Regions from separate parts of the Homo sapiens genome. Here all the other regions are linked to region 3. Evidence: promoter capture Hi-C in 16 types of primary human blood cells and fetal thymus (Javierre and others, 2016). All regions are on one chromosome and are shown on one strand. Each heading gives the region's core, a stretch centred on a gene start or on the middle of the fragment in contact. The rest is flanking DNA. Distances are from core to core; before and after follow the strand shown.

Region 1 (3,944 bases), core at 363-2,862, 1.9 Mb before region 3:
GAAACAACAAAATAAACAGAACCTTAATTTAGGGATTTGCCAACTGATCTTGACTACTGCTGGCAGGTTATAGCAGCCAGTTAGAAGCAGAACATGGGGTTCCCTGCCCTTCCGAAGATGGTGTCTGCCTGAGGACTCAGAAAAGAGGGGGGCCACAGAGACCCATGAGGATCCTTGAAATACACAGAAGTTGGCCAGACAGGGCAGGGCTGAGCAAATGGCTTTTTAGGCAGCTGAGGCCCTCTGCAGCTGTCAGAACAACTGCCACCAAGCTCTCCTGGTTGAGGTTGCAGCAAGTGCTGCAGTGTTGACCTTATCTTCCGAGACTGCGTTGTGGACACTCAGGTTAACGGCAGTCCACCTTACTATCTAGTTCTAGAACAGTCAGCGGCACCTGCCTAGCTACACGCTGTCTCACCCAAACCATTTCATTTCCTGGGTCTTGCGATTCTGGACTTTTCCACTAGCAACAACTGCCATCCAGCCAGACAGCAACAATGAACCACCACAGGTATGCTTTGAGAATCCAGTATCCAGGGTGGGGAACTCCATATAATCCTCCATTCACGCATGGTGCTAAAAGCAGATATGGAGAATTAGTAGAAGAGGTGCCCTGTGTCCCAGGGGGCCGCCCAGCCACAGTGAAAGCATCTCTCTCTCCCCACTTCTTCCTGCTCCAGTCGTTCTACCTCAAACACTCCCTACAGAGCACCTTTTAACACCTCTGGAGCCACCACTGCCACGTCACCCCTCACCCCCACCCACTGGCCTAACCACCCAATTCTCAGCCAGGTCTTTTGCAGAGCACAGCCTCCATGGTTGCCATGGAGGGTTTCTCCCCCCAGCAGTACCCCTTGGGGCTTTGAGACCCTATAAGGAAAGCACCAGGAAACCCCAAAACATTCTCCCTCCTGAAAACAATGGTTCCCAGTGTCTATGCCAGACACACTCACACCACCCAAAATAGACTCATTGTCCTCTTGCACAACATCCAGGAATTTGGTGAAACTCATCATTTTTCAGGTTACCGATAATGCAAGTTTGGAAACTGAAACAGGAAGGAACACAGGCTGAAAAGCTTTTATCCAGCCCACAGCATTTCTCTCTCCAGATGCAAGATAGTTTTTTTTTTTTTTTTCCCAGCAGTACTTTGGTGGGGTTAAAATTAGCTGGCAGCATTCTGGTCACATGCTAGACAACAAAACAAAAGGGAGTTGTTCCCCCTGCCGCTCCTGAACTGGCCCACGACAGAGTTTCCTAATCCATGGATTTCTGGGAAGCTGGCTCTCCGGGCCCTGGTATGGAGGGGCTACACCAAGGACTCCCCTCCGGTTATCATCCCTGCTATAATGGGGCGACACAGACGAGGTCAAGGCTGTTTGGAATCTTGGAGCTTGCCTCGATCTGGAAAGGCACTCAAGGGTCCAAAATGGCTTTTGTAAATCTTCTCACCAAAGCCAACAAAGAAGCAAACACTACAAAAACACTGAGAGAGAGAAGGGTAACATCTGACACATGAACATGGGCATCCATTGACTTGTGGGGTGGTGGCTGCTCTTGGCATGATTAAAAAAAAAATAGCCGGGTGTGGTGGCTCATGCCTGTAATCCCAGAAACTTTGGGAAGCTGAGGAGGGCAGATCGCCTGAGGTCAGGAGTTCGAGACCAGCCCGGCCAACATGGCAAAACCCTGTCTCTACTAAAAATACAAAAAAAGTAGCCAGGCATGATAGCACGTGCCTGTAATCCCAGCTACTCGGGAGGCTGAGGCAAGAGAATTGCTTGAACCCGGGAGGCGGAGGTTGCAGTGAGCTGAGACTGCCCCACTGCACTCCAGCCTGGGCGACAGAGGAAGACACCGCCTCAAAAAACAAAACAAAACAAAAATAAATAAATATAATACATCTGGGCTAGAGGTGGCGAACATTTAGGATAGATTCTGTATCTCTTGACCTTGATGACAGGGACATGTCAGGGTCTGCTTTGTTCATCCAGCTTAAAACTGTCACCAGAAGCCCTGGATAAAAATGCAGCCTCTGATTCACACACGGTCAGGAAACATGCCTTGTGCTCAGTACAGAAACATGTCCGTCAACCTGGGAAAGGAATCACCACCACGAAATATGCTTTTGGCTTGCCAAAGCTTAGCAGCTGTGAGAGCCAAAAACCCAGCTGCCTGGACTGTCTGGGGAAGTTGGCGGGAGGGAGGGGGGGTTGCTTTCTGAATCACCTGATTTCTGCCTCTAACTCTAGTTTAATTCCAAGTCGAAACCTATCTTGAAATGTCTCAAGAGCCTACTGCTCCTAAAAATTGTAGGTTTTAGCTAACCCTTCAGCTCTGTGCCTGCTGGCAAGGTGAAGCAGATGGCGTTTGTTGATTATTTATTTGGAAGGGGCTACTTTGGAATCAGGAAATTCCAGCGAGACAGAGTGCATCGCCTTGGCCAGAGCTGCCGTGACAATCACGAGCAGACACCCAGAGACAGTCAAGTTCAAAGAAATTGCAGCTAAGCCCCAGGAACTTGGGGCATTTTCAGTCTTTCTCGTCTCCTGGCCTCCATGTTCACCATGCACTTAGGAAGAAATGTTTCGTTCAGTTCAACATTCTGTGGTCTTCAAGTGTTTGAATACAAGGGCCCACATTCAAGGTCCCGCTTTGTCAAAAGGGCTTCACGAAGCTAACAGGCCTCTGACTTGTGTTTCATCCTGAAGCCCCTCATTATACAGACAGATCAAAACAGAAATCCCCCCTGCCTTAATGCCCAGCACATAAAGTCCTCTTTAATTAACATACACCATTTTTCAGTGAAACAGCCTCAAGGTGTTAAAAGTGCATAAAGGTCTGAAAGCTGAAGCCCAAGATAAACAGTGTGCCGAAATATATTTAGCAGAAAATATTGAAAGCCACAGGAAAAATAAGTTCCCTTCCTGGGATGTTAACGAATGTTTAGGTTCAGGAAACCTTCAGGAAGTAGCGAGCCGAGAAGGAATACTGCTCACCGTTTTTACCCCCAATGTAAATAAATCACTAAACCTCTTTGGTTTCCATAGGCCTGGGCTGGAGTGGAATATTTCATTTTTTCCCCATTAAACAGGCCACCCGGAGTGTTGGCATTACAGGCCTGAAAATATACCAAATCTGAATGTGCTATTTTGTTTCTGTACATTAAATCAGACTGTGTTTCAAACGGCAGTTCGTGCTAAATGGGGGGCTGATGATCCAGACTGTGCACCCTCACACACCTGAAATTGGCGCAGCGTAAATGATAGATCTGTTTCACCTTGGATCTCCCCGTGTCTTGTCTCCTACAGGAACACACCCTCTGTCGTTGTTGCCCAAGGTGATGTCATGTTCATTCTAAAGGCCGCGGTTCCAAGGGGACTACACCACAAGAAGATGCCTTCAGAAAGACCCAGATTTCCTGCGGTCTCAGGTAGGCGGCAGGGAGCAAGAGAACAAGGAAAGGACCCGCCACCACTCTCCCCAAGATGGATGCTGCATGATGTAAGTGGCTGGCTAAAATATCTGGCATCCTTGCAGTTTTAAGTTGCCAGCTAAATATTATTAAAAAGATAAAATACACGCAAACTGTGCAGAATGCAGGGCTGCTGTGTTTACATCCGGGTTTTGATGACTCAAAGACTTACACTTGAGCTTGCTGAAAAGCCTCTATTAAAAATACCGCTTTGTGAAAGCCCCCAGGGAGCAGGAAGAAAGCTGGGGGTGTGAAAGAGGAGAGCGGGAGGATGGTGACCCACCCAAGGACGGCGCTGACACCTGTGCTCCGGGCTGGCACTTAAGGCCAAGGAAGTGCTTAGAGGTTAACCTCCTCTCACCCTCGGAACCAGAGCGGGGAGGGTTAACCTTTTTCCAGAACATTTATTTCACCATCTCACTGACTAGAGGGAGGAGGGGCGGGAGGGGGAGAACGAGAGCCTGCCGCG
Region 2 (4,191 bases), core at 145-2,644, 1.7 Mb after region 3:
GGACCCGCGCGGGTCAGGCCAGGAGGTCCCTTGGGACGTCCAGCTGCTCCGGTCTAGCGCGCTGACCGGCGGCCACTGTGTGAGGAGTAGGTATCTGAGGAAACGGAAGCGGCCAGGGTCCCAGAGAGGGGGTGACCTGTAACGACCTGCTTCAAGGGCGGGGTGTCTTGGGAATACCCAGGACGGCTTGGGTGCCAGGGAGAAAAGGAATCCGGGAAGCCCGGCAGCGGCCGGTGAGGAGAGAGCGGGGTGGGGGGCAGGGGAACTGGGAGTGGCCCCGGTCCGAGGGAGGTAGGAAGGCCGAGGGTGGCCAGGGTCCCGGGTGACAGGGAGCAGACTTGCTCCAAGTAGGGGCGTCTGAGGAAACGCTCGGAGGGGGTTGGGGACCCTCCTGAGAAAAGCGGCTGTCCAAGGGAGGGGGCTCCTGGAGAGATGAGGAGCAGCAGGTCTTCGGAGGGTCGGACGAGTAGAGATCTTGCACCGCCTGGGGGAAGAACCGGAGCTCCCTGCGCCCCCATAGCTGAGCTGGGATGGGAGACCCAACTGGCCTGGCCGCTCCGGCTCTGAGGATCCCTAAGGGACCAGGAAAGAAGTCCTCGAGGAGTGGCTCGCGTTTGAGACCGGGGTGAGGAGCCAGCAGGGGAGTGGAAGTTCCCTCGGTCGGAGAGGAGTCATGCAAAATGGGACGGAGATGGGCGGAGGTGGGAGAGAATCCCTATAGGAGGGGATAAGGTAGAGAAAGAAAGTTGCCCGAGGAGAGAGTAATGGTTTCGTGGAACTGGCTAGGACAGTAGATATATGAGAAATTAACAGTGGAGCCATGTAGGTTCACAGGTCTTCACAAATAGAAGAAACTTCAGTTTCGTAATTAATATCAAGATGACATCTAGGACCAAAGCAAAGCTCCTAAAAGCAAGGTTAAGTGACTTGTTTTAGAAAAGAAATTTGTTTTAGGATGATGGCAGTAATATTAGGAAATAGGTTCATTGACAGGGTGGGGAATTTGGGAGGGAAAAGGGGAGGAGTAGCTGAACTAAAGGAGTAGAAGTAAATACTTATCAGAAAGAGGGTAGGCATACTCGGCTAAAGTGAAAAGAAGTTTTGAGTTCTAGTTCCACCACTTAGCTAAGTTTCTGTGCAGTTTCCTCATCAGAATACTAATAGTAATAGTTCCTACTTTATAAGGTGGTGGTGGTGTTTTTTTTTTCATGTGAGTTGGTATTTGTAGAGCTTTTAGGATAGTGACTGGCACATAGTCGTGTGTACTGGATTGTTCAATAGACGATAAAGACCTGACTTCTTAAATAGAAGGTAAAGACCTGGCTCGCAGATGTTAGCTTGCATCAAAATCACCTGGAGGGCTTGGTAAAATGTAGATTGCTTGGCCCCACCTGGGGGTTTCAGTAGGTCTGGGGTGGGGCCCAATAATTTATATTTATCTCAAATGATGATCACGTTGGTCAGAGGACCACACTTTAAGAACCACTTACTTTAATGAAACCGGTAATAATGGTAGCAACTTTAAAATACCTGCTAAAGAGACAGGTAGAGGCAAATTGCCTAAAAGATCCTATTATAAAGGATACTCATTTTTAGCCTGTGTTTTTCAAACTGTGGATTGTGATTTATTAGTAATTTATAAAATCAATGTTGTGAGTTTTTACCTGCATTGAAAATAAAATGTAGAACAGAATAAACTGACATTGCATTTGGTAAGGAAAAGTATTGTTTTGGGAAACTTTTCTCCTACATGTATGTACTAGGTCACAATGTAAAGTGTATTTCTTTTTTTGAGTTCCTGGCCAAAGGATAAAATATATTTCTTACAGTTAAAAAAGTCTGAAAGCTGGGTGCGGTGGCTCACGCCTATAATCCCAGCACTTTGGGAGGCCAAGGCGGGCGGATCACTTGAGGTCAGGAGTTCAAGATCAGCCTGACCAACATGGTGAGACCCCCATCTTTAAAAAAAATACAAAATTAGCTGGGCGTGGTGGCGCGTGCCTGTAATCCCAGCTACTTGGAAGGCTGAGGCTGGAGAATTGCTTGAACCCCGGAGGTGGAGGTTGCAGTGAGCCGAGATCATGCCATTGCATTCCAGTCTGGGCAACAAGAGTGAAACTCCATCTTAAAAAAAAAAAAAAAGGTTTTTTTGGGAGTATTATATTCCATTAAATTTCTTCAGTTTCTGATTTGGTTCCTCCTGTGTTTGTCTTGTCACATATTGTGTTATGCCTCTGACTCTGGAACTTTTTTGGATATTGAGAATCTTTGGCATGAGAACTTAAGGGAATCTGAGGCAGAGAAATTGAATGGTGTTTCTCAGATGTTGTCCGCTTTTGTTTCACTTGTGCCCTCTTGTTCACCCTTTCTTTTTTATCACTGTACCGTAAAGCATTGTTTGTAAAAGCCTGAGTATACACAGACATATTGACAGTAAACAACACTGAAATGGACTGACTTGAGAAAATTTCATGTATAGAAAATAAGCAAAAACAAAGTAAGAAACACTGCAAAAGAGAAAAATGAAAAGATATTTCCTTTTTAGAGAGTAAAAATATTAAGTATTTCTTATCCTTACACTAATATAAAACATATACAGATATTTTTAAAGGAACTAGATATACAGTTTCTAGGTCTTTGTAGAGAAAAGAAATAGTGGTAATATGTGACAGCAAAATGCACCTGGGATAGAGGCTTAACTACAAAGTAAATCATTTATTAAGAGGGAGCTTTTGTTTAATGGTTTTCTCCCTTGAGAATAAACTGGATGTGGTACATGTTGTAAACTTAACTTGTTTGAGGAACCTAAATGTAATTTACAGCGTGTTTTTAAAAAGAATATGTATGTTTTATCTGTACGTGGTTTGATTTTTCTTCCATTGAAAGCTAGATGGTTTATATTTAGGAGTTGATTTAGATCTGTTTTTATGGCTGTTAAGAACAGGAAGCAGTATTGAAAACTGAAAGAGATCCTTGCAGCTTTCTTTAAAATCTTTAATCCAGGGGATTATGTAACCTCTTCATTAATGTTTTATGAAATTGTGAAGAAACTGTTGGTATAGCTTTGCATCAGGATTTTTGGTTTATTTTTTTCTCTCTCAAAAATAATTTTTAGTTTTATTTCAGATTATATTTCCTTAAAATTTTTATTTTCATTTGGAAGACTGCAAGGCATATAACCATTGCATATCTGAGTTCTAAAGCAGATGCAGACTTTTCACAAAATAAATTTACTGCTTTTTTTCTGTGACATAAGTTTCGAGAAGGAAAGCTTTTGATTTCTTGCATTGAGTTCAGTGGATTATTCTTAGCACTAGAGTTGTTGTTGAAGTCATGGTACATTTATATAGATCATTCAGTTCTACACCAAATGATGGAAGAATGAGAAATCCTATATGACAAATAGAAAAGTTCATTCTTCATAATTGAGAACATTGAGCAGTTTGATTACCTGGTTTTAATAAGTGGACTTATTATTCATCTGATTATACTTATCTAGGAATAGCTTTGATTGCCCAAATAATTTTACAGTGGGATTTGGTTGTCTGTAGTTGAATAAATGGTGGTTTTTAAATCCCAAAATCCTAACTGTGCTATTTAGTGAGACTCAGTTTCACATACTGAAGTTTTATTTAGGTAAGTGATTTTAAAAAGTAGAAGTTCAATTAACACTAGTTAATTAGGTTTATTTTCTATTTCAGAGAAGCCTTGTCTTGTTTTATAAGTCTCTGATCTACTTTTCTGCTTCCTGCTCTCCAACTCGCTGTACAATAAATTCTAATAGAAATGTGGGTAACTGAAAATCTAGTTCTCTAAAAGTATAAAACCCCTATATCTAGTTTTTTAGTTTGCTTCGAAACTTCCTAAACTAATTACCTTTAAAAAAGTATTTTATATAATAGAGTACTTGAAAAGCTACATTTTACTTTGGACTTGCCAAAACACATCTGTTGTGTGTAACAGGTTTTGATTTCTAGAGAATAGATCTTGAATTCTGCAGATTTCTGAACTCTGATTTTTTTCCTTTTTTTTTAAAAAAAAATTCAACTTTTAGTTTAGATTCTGAGAGTACATATGCAGGTTGGTTATATGGGTATATTGTGTGATGCTGAGGTTTGAGGTATGATTGGTCCTGTCACCCAGGTAGTGAGCATAGTACCCAATAGTTCTTCAACCGTTCCCCCCCCGCCC
Region 3 (3,681 bases), core at 862-3,361:
GCTTTACAGTTCTTTAACAAATGTCATGAAGTATTTTTTCTTTAACAGTATAATTATTTGGCCTCTCAGAACCTCGGTTTCCTCATCTGTAAAATGAACAGATTGTCCAGACTATTTCACAGGGTTTTTGAAAATGTCAGAGGAGATCATTATGATATGTGAAAATATTTTAAATTGCATTATCTATTATGTAAATGTAAGATGGAAATTTAAAGGAAACACATACACAGTTTTTTCATGGGTTGAGATCTCTTGCTATTGGTCAGCAGAGCCTCAGGAATGCAAGTAGACAATGAATTAGATAACTGCTTATACTGATTCCCTGCATTGGCAGGGAAAAGGCCAATGCAAATTATCAGGATGTACTGTGTGGACTACCAATCTTATCTTAGATCAGTGATACAACAATCCAACTAAATGCTCCTAAGTGGACACCTCATAAAATAATTATTGTATGGCATTTGTCAAAATTTTAAATGCTTTACAGCTCCTTTGTTTGTTCTTGTTTTGTCTGTGGGATTTCATTTCTAGGAAAATAACTAAATGGACTAAGTTTAAAAAAAAAAAACACCAATCATGTACATTACTAAGGGCAGACAGTCCATCTTCTGGATATTTCTGAAGATGCTCAATAAACGTTAATCAAAGTAGGTAATGATTCCCAACATGGGCTATTGTGTCTTCCACGTTTATTTTCTACACTTGATGTTAGCCAAAAGGCCAAGGAGCAATTCCATTTTCTTTCTTTCCTTCTTTCTTTTCTGAGACAAGTCTCACTCCGTCGCCCAGGCTGGAGTGCAGTGGCGCCATCTCAGCTCACTGCAACCTCCATCTCCCGGGTTCAAGCAATTCTCTGCCTCAGCCTCCTGAGTGGCTGGGATTACAGGCGCCCGCCACCAAGCCCAGCTAATTTTTTTGTATTTTTAGTAGAGACGGGGTTTCACCATCTTGGCCAGGCTGGTCTTGAACTCCTGACCTCGTGATCCACCCGCCTCAGCCTCCCAAAGTGCTGGGATTACAGGTGTGAGCCACCGCGCCTGGCCGTTTATTTTAATATATTCTTCAGCTCTGAATATTTGCTAGTATCCCAGTAATAGTTTGTTAAATCAATAAACGTGTTGACATACATGCATAGCATAATGTCTGGCACACAGTAGGTACTCCATTGAATGAATGCATGAATTATTACCGTGTCAATTTGCTTGTCTATTTGCAAATGTTAATAGTTAATTTGATCCCTAAAGTGTTTGTGAACTTAAAACACACACATACGCACTTTCCCTGACAACGCTTATCTGCTAACCCCTTAATTATGTTCATCTGAGACTGGACCAAAACATGTTGTTTTATTCAATTTAAATACCAAATTCAAATTTATTTTGAATATAGCTTAGAACACATTCAATGTTTGCTAAAATAATAATAATAATAATAATAATAATAATAATAATAATACCATGTACATTCAGTTAGCCAGACAATTACTCCAGCCCAAATACCCTGCTATGGGACATGAACCGGATGTCTGCCCGGCACACATTCATCAGGTGACCCCTAAAACTTCTTCTCTAAGGTCCACACTGTCTAATAGCCAAGTTGAAATCTTTCCTCGAAATTTTCCTCTCTAGTGTCTCAGTGCCCCAGGTGTCATCAAGGTGTCAAAGGCGCTTGGGAGTGCCTGCAAACCGCCCCATCCCCGGAGACACAGCCTCATTCCCCGCCCTCGCGCCTAGGCGGCCGGTGGGCGGGCCCAGCGAAGGGCCTTGTGGCTGTTTCCTATTGGGGCTTGGTTGCTATGGTGTCACTCGCCTTTAAACTCGTGGGTACATCTTTCGGAAATTAAAGGAGAATTACTTCCAGGGCTGCCCATACTTGCCATGGCCGACTCAGTAGTCACTAACTTCAACAAAAATAAAACTGTTGCAATAGTATTCTATTAAAGCTTCTTTAACTGCTTAAACTTGCGGTTTTGACATGGTACCTATCCTTTCTTCCCTTTTCAAAAGATTCGCTATAGAGTCTTTCTCTACATGCCAGTCTCCAAAATGGCGCGGACGGCATCAGAAGGTCAGAGGTGAGTCACGTGGGTCCCCCCGGTTCCGGCGCGGTTGAGGCCTTCGGTGGTGAACGAGTCTCCAGCACCATGTCTGGTTTGTCTGGCCCACCAGCCCGGCGCGGCCCTTTTCCGTTAGCGTTGCTGCTTTTGTTCCTGCTCGGCCCCAGATTGGTCCTTGCCATCTCCTTCCATCTGCCCATTAACTCTCGCAAGTGCCTCCGTGAGGAGATTCACAAGGACCTGCTAGTGACTGGCGCGTACGAGATCTCCGACCAGTCTGGGGGCGCTGGCGGCCTGCGCAGCCACCTCAAGGTGCGGCATTGGGCGACGTGGGGCCGGGAGGGAAGACGGCAGGCTTAGGCGAGGGGAGGCTCGGGTTCGGGGGAGTCGGGCCGGCGGAGGCCTGGGAGTTGTTCTGGCCTCCCGGGAGCGCAAAGGACGTGCGGTGGAGCCCGCCCCCTCACCCCGCTGGTTGCCTGTCGCGGGGCGGGGCGGGTCACCAACGCCTGGGAACCCCAAGAAGGGCTGCGAGGCTTTGGCGGATGTGGTGACACCTGAGCTGGGGCGGTTGTCAACGTCCTATACCAGTTTTGGTCTCAGATACATTGAACCGTAATTTGGTTCTCCAAATAAATGTTGGGGTGTTGAATATTTATACGGATTGGCATCATAAGATACCGCGATACCTGCAGGAAAGTAAAGGAGACAGAGCTAACCGTGATTAATAAAATGTTATTTATTGAGCATCTGCTGTGTCAGTTACTGTGCTACTTTGCATATATTACCATTTGGTTCATGCACTACCCTATGAAGTAGGTAGGTACTGTTAGCCCCATTTTACAAATGAGGAAACTGAGACTCAGAGGTAGGATAAACTAGTAAGTGTCACAGATGGAATAGATTCTTTTTTTTTTTTCAAAATTATTATTATACTTTAAGTTCTAGGGTACATGCGCACAACTTTCAGGTTTGTTACATATGTATACATGTGCCGTGTTGGTGTGCTGCACCCATTAACTCGTCATTTACATTAGGTATGTCTCCTAATGCTATCCCTCCCACCTCCCCCCACCCCACGACAGGCCCCGGTGTGTGATGTTCCCCACCCTGTGTCCAAGTGTTCTCATTGTTCAATTCCCACCTATGAGTGAGAACATGCGGTGTTTGGTTTTCTGTCCTTGCGATGGAATAGATTCTTACTTAGTTTGGTAGTTAAGTATGTTGAGGGAAAAGCGCTGCAACCTTATTCCTTCCTTGTTTTAAATTTGTAATTTCTGTAGTTGATTAAAGTCGATTATTGGTTACAAAATGGTCTCAGTCTCTAGTCCTTTTTCTTTGGTATGCCAGAATCTGGACTTGGCTCTTTTATGTAAATACCAACTATGCTCTTGGATGGTGACAACTACTGCCATAATACCAGTTTGATTCTGTTTTGTAGCTAAGAGTAGCCTGGCCTGGTCTTTGAGACATTAATATAATTTGATATCTGTCAGTATTTGGTTGCATTTTAGGTAATTTTATTCATTCACAATAAGCAAAGTGTCTTTTTTTTTCTTTGTAACACAATGGGGCTTTTGTTATACTAAATAGAAACATTTTTACTTTTTTTTTTTTTTTTTTTTTTT

The links. Contacts are between HindIII fragments. The CHiCAGO score rates a contact against its expected background, and 5 or more counts as called.
Region 1: a contact is called between a fragment that was not itself captured here and the fragment with the promoter of TMED10 in region 3, in 2 of 17 cell types (M1 macrophages and M0 macrophages). The highest score is 5.2, in M1 macrophages.
Region 2: a fragment that was not itself captured here is called in contact with the fragment with the promoter of TMED10 in region 3 in 1 of 17 cell types (fetal thymus); the score reaches 9.2 in fetal thymus.

The regions. Positions count from the first base shown.
Region 1 is chr14:77,040,614-77,044,557 of GRCh38, reverse strand. It overlaps LINC02288 (long intergenic non-protein coding RNA 2288), which reads right to left and starts at 3,509. Exons shown (of 4, transcript NR_110554.1): 1 at 3,281-3,509. RefSeq lists enhancers at 1, 3,807-3,896, 1-3,944, 3,306-3,944. The HindIII fragment of the contact is 1,064 bases long and covers 1,081-2,144 here.
Region 2 is chr14:73,454,063-73,458,253 of GRCh38, reverse strand. All of the region lies in intron 1 of NUMB (NUMB endocytic adaptor protein), which reads left to right. Among named protein-coding and RNA genes, the nearest start is that of NUMB, 2.4 kb to the left of the region's middle. The HindIII fragment of the contact is 3,759 bases long and covers 1-3,273 here.
Region 3 is chr14:75,175,042-75,178,722 of GRCh38, reverse strand. TMED10 (transmembrane p24 trafficking protein 10) reads left to right here and starts at 2,111. Exons shown (of 5, transcript NM_006827.6): 1 at 2,111-2,368. The coding sequence starts at 2,144. RefSeq lists enhancers at 1,961-2,200, 1,715-2,287. The HindIII fragment of the contact is 2,239 bases long and covers 1,945-3,681 here.